2 separate regions of the Homo sapiens genome follow, and region 2 is linked to region 1. Evidence: promoter capture Hi-C in 16 types of primary human blood cells and fetal thymus (Javierre and others, 2016). All regions are on one chromosome and are shown on one strand. Each heading gives the region's core, a stretch centred on a gene start or on the middle of the fragment in contact. The rest is flanking DNA. Distances are from core to core; before and after follow the strand shown. Region 1 holds the start of B9D2 (B9 domain containing 2). Region 2 holds the start of SHKBP1 (SH3KBP1 binding protein 1).

Region 1 (3,778 bases), core at 361-2,860:
GAATGAGCACTTCCTATTCCAGCCCTATTCCTATTCTAAGTGCTGTTGATACTCGTTTAGTACTCATGACAACTTCAACAGGTAAATATTTCTATGACTCTCATTGTACAAACAAGGAAGTCGAGGTGAAGAGAAGTGCCCAAGTTCACATAATCAGCCCAAGGGTGCCTTAACAAGCAATAACTGGTTTTGAACCCAGGCAGTCTGTGCTCTTAACCTCAAACCTGTGCTGCTTCTTAGCTACTATTAGCTTCACTTTGAAACAAGGAAACTGAGGCTCAAAGTGGTCGAGTCCAAAGGTCTCCAATTAATAGGTGGGGGAGTTAATATTTAAATGCAGATCTGGCAGCCCATGACCCTAACCATTACACTATACCATGACTCTATAGGGCCTCAGTTGGGGAAGCATGAACAAAATTACTTTCCTGGGACGTGGCGGCTCACGTTTTTAATCCTAGCACTTTGAGAGGCTGAAGTGGGTGGCCTGTTTGAGCGCAGGAGTTCGAGACCAGCCTGGGCAACATAGCGAGACCCTGTCTCTACAAAAAATAAAAAAAATTAGCCAGATTTGGTGGTGCGTGTCTGTAGTCCCAGCTTCTCAGGAGGCTGAGGCGGGAGGATCACTAGAGCCCGAGAGTTCGAGGCTGCACTGAGCTATGATCACACCACCTTACTCCAGCCCGGGCGCAGAGAGAGACCCTGTCTGTATCCCACCCCTCACACACACAAAGATGGGAGCTTGAGACTCATGTGGACAGGGTGTGGGCTGGGCCTGGAGTACTGAGAACTGATGGAAATGAGGTTAAGAGTCTGCGTTAAGGGGTGGAGGAAGGAGCATGTAGCCTCTAGGCTAGGGGTCTTGGTGTGGAAATGAACCAGGCTTGGGGGAATACCTGTGTGAATGCCCCACTTGCAGAAGAGGCTACTTTCCGAGAAACCGCTGGCCCCTATGATCTGCCCGATCACGTGCACCTCAGCCATGGCCCTGGGAGGGGAAAAATATAATCACAACCCTGTGAGGTAAGTGTATTATCTCCATTTGACGGGGGGGAAACTGAGGCCCAGCAAGTAAAGGGTAGTACTAGGATTCCAAGCTAGCTTCGTCACACCCCTGAGGCTGAGGTCTTGACCACAGATCCTAATTGCCAACCCATGAAAGCCTGGAAAAAATGGGGGGACCCTTGTCTGGGGAACCAGCATTTAACTCTGGGAAGTCCAAAATAACCTTTTCGGGTTCAGGTCGGCGGAAAGCCCCGCCCGAAGGGGCTATGGCTCCGCCCACGAGCGCAAAAGACCCGCCTTCCGCGTCACGCCAGCCACCCCGCTTCCCTCCCCCAGCAAGCTCCATAAGGCGCATGCGTTATGAGTTCAGGTCCGACTTAACCCCGCCTCTAAGCGCAGCGCATGCGTCATTCCTACCTTAGCGCACTTAACGGTTAGGAGAGGAGAAAGCGGCAACCGGGGTTGTAGTTCATGGGCTTGACTGCTTCTTTTCTCCGCGGGCGCCGACCAGGCCTGGCTCGCGCCTCTCCCAGGACCCGCCTGGCTGCGAGATATGTAAGCCGCGATACTTCCGCGACCGCGCTCGTCTTGGTTTCCGTGGTTGTTGCTGGGGCAACAGCAGGCTCCTCCCCTAGCTTTGTACTCGCTCTGCGCGCTACTAATTGGTGCTAGCCGTCTGCGGGGGGCGGGGTGAAGCTGTGATGGACATTTTCCTCCTCCGCTCCATTTTGGGAAAATAGCGTCTCTCCAGCTACGGCAAAGGGTTCCGCCATTTTGGGCGTGGCTAGGAAGCTGCCATGTTGAGTGTGGCTGAGGAAGTTTGAGTGCAGTTTCTCCCAGATACCTTCTTTACCAAAAAAGCAAATCCCTAACTGCTCCGTGCTGCGCCTACCCCACCGAAGAGCTCTCTGTGGTCCGGGATCACAAATCAGAGATTGAACCAGGACCAAGGGGGAATTCCTTCCAGGACCTCGTGTACATCCCCGGCCTTGTAACTGGAAAACAAAGCAAAAAAATCACTCCTCATTCAGAGAGTGGAGAAGTTGGGGAGTGGGTTCTGCTTCCGTTTTAGAGTTCCCCTAGGTTTCTCAAGGACAAGGAAGGAAGGAAGTTGGATAAGTCCAACTTCCTTCTCGGAGCTACTACCAAGTTCACTGTTACTGCTTGATTCTGAGCAAGGAGCGGTTGGGGTAGCGAAGAGAAATGAGGAACTAAGATTCCCTTATTTGCAGAAAATCCTCTTTCCTATTGATTGATTTATCAATCAAGAAATGGAGATGTTGTCCCTGGATGCCATCCTAGATGCCATCATTTCCCACATCAAGCCAGTCATCAGGTCCCATCAAGGCTCCTTAAAAGGGTCTCACTCTGTCACCCAGGCTGGAGTACGGTGGCTCGATCACAGCTCATTGCAGCCTCTTAACTCCTGGGTTCAAGGGATCCTCCTACCTCAGCCTCCCATGTAGCTGGTATCACAGACATGCACCACCACGGCTGGCTAATTCTTTTTTTTTTTTTTAAGAGATGGAGTCCTGCTATGTTGCTATGTTGCCCAGTCTTGTCTTGACCTCCTGGGCTCTAGCTATCCTCCCAGTTCTCCCTCCCAAACTGCCGGGATTACAGGCGTGAGCCACCCAGCCAGGCCAATAGATACAAAGTATTTACAAGCTACCATTGGCTAGGCGCGGTGGCTCATAACTGTAATCCCAGCCCTTTGGAAGGCTGAGGCGGGAAGAGCTCTTGAGGCCAGAAGTTCGAATATAGGGAGACCCCATTAATAATGCATATATCAACTAGTGAAGTATTCCATTGAATTGTTTAATATAAATGTTATCCTATTGAAATGTTGTACCCTCGTTATAATTTTGGTTTTTTACTTTTTGAGATGGCGTCTCCCCCTGTCATCCAGGCTGGAGTGCAGTGGTGCGATCCCAGCTCACTGCAATCTCTGCCTCCCGGGTTCAAGAGATTCTCCTGCCTCAGCCTCCCGAGTAGCTGGGACTACAGGCGTGCACCACCACACCCAGCTAATTTTTGTATTTTTAGTAGAGACGGGTTTTCACCATATTGGCCAGACCGGTCTCAAACTCCTGACCTCAGGTGGTCCACCCGCCTCAGCCTCCCAAAGTGCTGGGATTACAGGCGTTAGCCACCGTGACCGGCCGGGTTTTTTTTTTTTTTTTTTTTTTTGACAGAGTCTCCCTCTGTCGCCCAGGCTGGAGTGCAGTGGCATGATCTCTGCTCACCACAACCTCCGCCTCCCAGGTTCAAGCAATTCTTCTGTCTCAGCCTCCTTAGTAGCTGGGATTGCAGGCACCCACCACTATATCTAGCTAATGTTTGTGCTTTTAGTAGAGATGGAGTTCCACCATGTTGGTCAGGCTGGTCTCGAACTCCTGGCCTCATGTGATCCTTCTGCCTCAGCCTCCCAAAGTGCTGGGATTACAGGCATGAGCCACCTCGCCTGGGCCCAGCTACTTTTTGTATTTTCTTTTTTATTTTATTTATTTACTTTTTTTTTTTTTTTTTTTTGAGACAGAATCTTGCTCTGTTGCCCAGGCTGGAGTGAGCCTCTGCACCTGGCAGAGGTTTCACTTTTAAATGATCTTTCTGTCCTTTAAGCTGGAGCTGGGGAAAATGTATTTATTTATTTATTTATTTCTGGATGCTGTGTGGGTGAGGTAGACAGCTCTAACCTTTCAGCTCTTGGGGCCCCTGGTCCCCTAGTGGTGGCACCAGCCTTGCATTCTCTTTTCTCAAGCCCCCATTTTGTCCA
Region 2 (3,778 bases), core at 1,118-3,617, 790 kb before region 1:
CTTGCGCCACCATGCCCGGCTAATTTATGTATTTTTAGTAGAGACGGGGTTTCTCCATGTTGGTCAGGCTGGTCTCAAACTCCTGACCTCAGGTGATCCACCCGCCTCAGCCTCCCAAAGTGCTGGGATTACAGGCATGAGCCACCACACCCGGCCAGAAGTAGGCCTTTACCCACTACATGCCTTCTTTTACTTATCTGCACAATGAAGATTAAAAATAGTTTCTTGGCCTGGCATGGTGCCTCACACCTGTAATTCCAGCACTTTGGGAGGCTGAGGTGGGCAGATCATTTGAGGTCAGAAGTTCAAGACCAGTGTGGCCAACGTGGCGAAACCCCATCTCTACTAAAAATACAAAAAGTAGCCAGGCATGGTGGCACGTGCCTGTAGTCCCAGACACTCAGGAGACTGAGGCACAAGAATCTCTTGAACCTGGGAGATGGAGGTTGCAGTGAGCTGACATCGAGCCATTGCACTCCAGCCTGGGGGACAGAGCAAGACTCTGTCTCAAAAAAAAAAAAAAAAAAGTCTCTTATCATAGGGTTACTGTGAGAATTAAATTGCTCCATGTTTAATTGATACATGATAAACTGATACTTAGCACAGGGCCTAGTAAATATCAGTGCTCTAGTAGTGCCTGCCCATATTATTATCATTGTTTGTGTCATTTATCTCTGTAGTAGGAAGTATATACAATCCTATTGCATAGGTTTAAGGGAATTAATCCACTAAAGTGTTTGGAACAGAGCCTGGCACATATTGCTATGTAACTGCATCATCATCATCATCCCTTTTTAATAGATGAGAAAACTGAATTTCAGAGAGGGTAGTCTGATCTGAAATTCACCTATTATTCCAGCTTCTCTCTTCCAAATACGGCCTCTGTGCCCTGTTTCTTCCCCCAGGAGGAGATGAACGGCTGGCTGGAGGCTGTAGCTTCCTCGGTGGCGGAACACGCAGAGATCGCCCGCTGGGGCCAGACACTACCCACTACTTCATCCACAGATGAGGGCAACCCTAAGAGGGAAGGCGGAGATCGCAGGGCCAGCGGGCGCAGGAAGTGACTTCCCACCCCCAGGACCTGACACATCTCGTCTCCCCTCTTTTCCGCACTGTGGGCACAAAGACACTTTTTCTTCCGCAGGGGCGGGAGCCCCTAGTTCCAACACTGAGGACGCGTGACATGGTGGGCACCGGAAAGGAGGGGACTTCTCCTGCACCCCAAGAAGTGGTGGGGAGATTGCTGCCCCTATAGCCATATCTCGGCCCCTTCCCACTCACCACCCCCACCCCAGGTGCTGGGGGTCCCTTATTTTTATGCAATAACTGAGCTTGATGGGGGTGGGCAGGGGGCCAGTTGAGCCAAGCCCCCAGCCCCGATCTGCAGATCCTGCCCCAAGAAGCTGGGGTGGTGGGGGCAGTAATTCCTGCCCCCCTCTCTGCCCTAGGGATGGGCACGGGGGCGCTGGTGAGGTCCCCTGGACCATCCAGGGTGCTAGGGGGCAGGGAGGGGACACCCCCTCCCCGCCTTTACCTCACTTCCAATGCTGCCTTGATCTCTGTCTGGGAGGGGGGAGTGAAGGGGCCCTAGCCCCCTGCACTCCGCCGCCTCAGAGCCATGCGGTTAATTCCTGACTTAGTTTATTTTTGCAAAACGTCGATCTCCTCCTCCCCCGCCCCGCATCCGCGAAGGCTTTTAATGGGAGGGGCGTCAAAGCTCAAAACTGTTTTCCTCTCTCCTCCCCCCTCCAGTTGTAAATGCCACTTCATGAGGGGAGGGGCGAGGGGAAGCCCACCCCTGCATGCTTCTGGCTGGAGCACCTCCCTGGGGAGTCGGGGGATTGGGTTGTGGGCAGTCCCCATGGCCGCCTGGAGAAGCCGCTGGGGCCCGGGGGTGTGGGGCGGTGTGGCGGGCGCACACTGTATGTACCTATAATAAACCCTTTGGCTTTGACGGTCTATGGTCCTTTGTTTGGGTTTTCTGGGCTGCGCCCGGGAGGATTGAAAGGAGGGCTGTGGTGGCTGTAGGGGTGGGTGCGGGGTGGGGAGAGGGGCACGGGGGTACCGTGGCTGCGGAGAACATCCAGATGTACCCTTTTATGTGGACTTAATTTCGGGGTCTAAACACACGCCCCTTGACGAGAACCTAGAGGGATGGAGAATATTTCGTTATGCTTCGTAATAAACTTCCCCAAAGGAGACTCCGGGTCCGCCCCGTCAAGTTCAGGAAAGGCGGACCCCTTTAAGGAGGCGGAAAAGTTAACCGCGATGGGCAGGCGCTCTGTCCAATCGCTAGTGACTCCTGGAGTCTCTGGCCCAATGAGCAGCCTATGGAGGCGGGGTCCGGGTGCACACCCGGAAGTGGGTGCGGGCCAGCCGGCTCGCCCGGGGGCCATGGCAGCAGCGGCTACTGCAGCCGAGGGGGTCCCCAGTCGGGGGCCTCCCGGGGAAGTCATTCATCTGAATGTGGGAGGCAAGAGGTGAGTGTGGGAGACTCCTGAGGTCCCATCCTCGGGGGCGGGAAGCGGGGTGGGAGTATCCGCCTCTCCTGGGGGAATCCCTGTCCATCAAGGGTTGCTCCGCCCCCCCCCCCTTTGGAGGCGCGAGATTCTGGAAAAACGCCGGGGGAGGGGGAAGGGGAGGGAACCCTGGATCCTGCGGGAGGGGGACGCATTCCTCACCCGCTCCTCTTCATCTCTTGCGTCCGTTTACCTTCCCCGCCCAGATTCAGTACCTCTCGCCAGACTCTCACCTGGATCCCAGACTCCTTCTTCTCCAGGTGATCGGGAGAGCGAGTTTGGGGCGAGGGTAGGAGGGATGGAGAGGGCGTGGGAGACCTAATATCCACTCCCCCGGCCCGTGACGCCTGCTCGGTGTCCCTTCCCTGCAGTCTTCTGAGCGGACGCATCTCGACGCTGAAAGATGAGACCGGAGCAGTGAGTCGGACAAGAACTGAAATGGGATGGGGGGGAGGGGTTGGTAGGAAGAGGGGCAGGACCCCACTCAGTCCTGCCTTTTACCCCATCCATCCTCTGCCCCCCTTTCCCGCAGATCTTCATCGACAGGGACCCTACAGTCTTCGCCCCCATCCTCAACTTCCTGCGCACCAAAGAGTTGGATCCCAGGTTGGCATGGAAAAAGGGGAGGGAGTCCCTCACTGTCTTCAGTCCCTGAGGAGTTCTTTCACCTCCTCTGAATGTCCACGTGAGCTCCATTCTATTAGAATTCTCATTCAGAACCTTGATCACAGGCCGGGCGCGCCGGGATTGCTCACGCCTGTAATCCCAACACTTTGGGAGGCCGAGGTGGGAGGATCACTTGAGCCCAGGATTTGGAGACTAGCCTGGGCAACATAGCGAGACCCCTTCTCTAAAAAAGCAAACAGGCAAAACTTCATGAGAATCTTGATCATGTTAAAATTTTATGTCCTTCGATTTCTCCCTACACACACACACACACACACACACACACACACACACACACACACTCAACATTTCCTCCACCCATATCATCACTCCTTAGCATCTTTATTCCATCAAAACTTTCTACCCCTTGACATTCTCTGTGCAGTTTTGAAAATTACCCTCTCAGCATTCTCTGTTCACCCCCACACCTAGACCCTGACCTCTAGTCAATTCTACTACCCAGGGGTGTCCACGGTTCCAGCCTCCTCCATGAAGCCCAGTTCTATGGGCTCACTCCTCTGGGTAAGTGGGAGCCCCCAGCTATCATCCTCATTGTATAGAAAACCAACTCTGTGATGCTACCTGCCCCTCTT

The links. Contacts are between HindIII fragments. The CHiCAGO score rates a contact against its expected background, and 5 or more counts as called.
Region 2: the fragment with the promoter of SHKBP1 here is called in contact with the fragment with the promoter of B9D2 in region 1 in 1 of 17 cell types (neutrophils); the score reaches 5.1 in neutrophils.

The regions. Positions count from the first base shown.
Region 1 is chr19:41,362,539-41,366,316 of GRCh38, forward strand. It overlaps B9D2 (B9 domain containing 2), which reads right to left and starts at 1,611. Exons shown (of 4, transcript NM_030578.4): 1 at 1,420-1,611; 2 at 894-985. The coding sequence starts at 981. It also overlaps a transcript of TMEM91 not described here. RefSeq lists an enhancer at 1,467-1,586. The HindIII fragment of the contact is 18,483 bases long and covers 1-3,778 here.
Region 2 is chr19:40,574,506-40,578,283 of GRCh38, forward strand. SHKBP1 (SH3KBP1 binding protein 1) reads left to right here and starts at 2,368. Exons shown (of 18, transcript NM_138392.4): 1 at 2,368-2,480; 2 at 2,726-2,779; 3 at 2,891-2,936; 4 at 3,052-3,125; 5 at 3,649-3,707. The coding sequence starts at 2,395. SPTBN4 (spectrin beta, non-erythrocytic 4) reads left to right here. Exons shown (of 36, transcript NM_020971.3): 36 at 906-1,959. The coding sequence ends at 1,064. RefSeq lists silencers at 1,757-1,846, 2,197-2,376, 2,397-2,466. The HindIII fragment of the contact is 21,373 bases long and covers 1-3,778 here.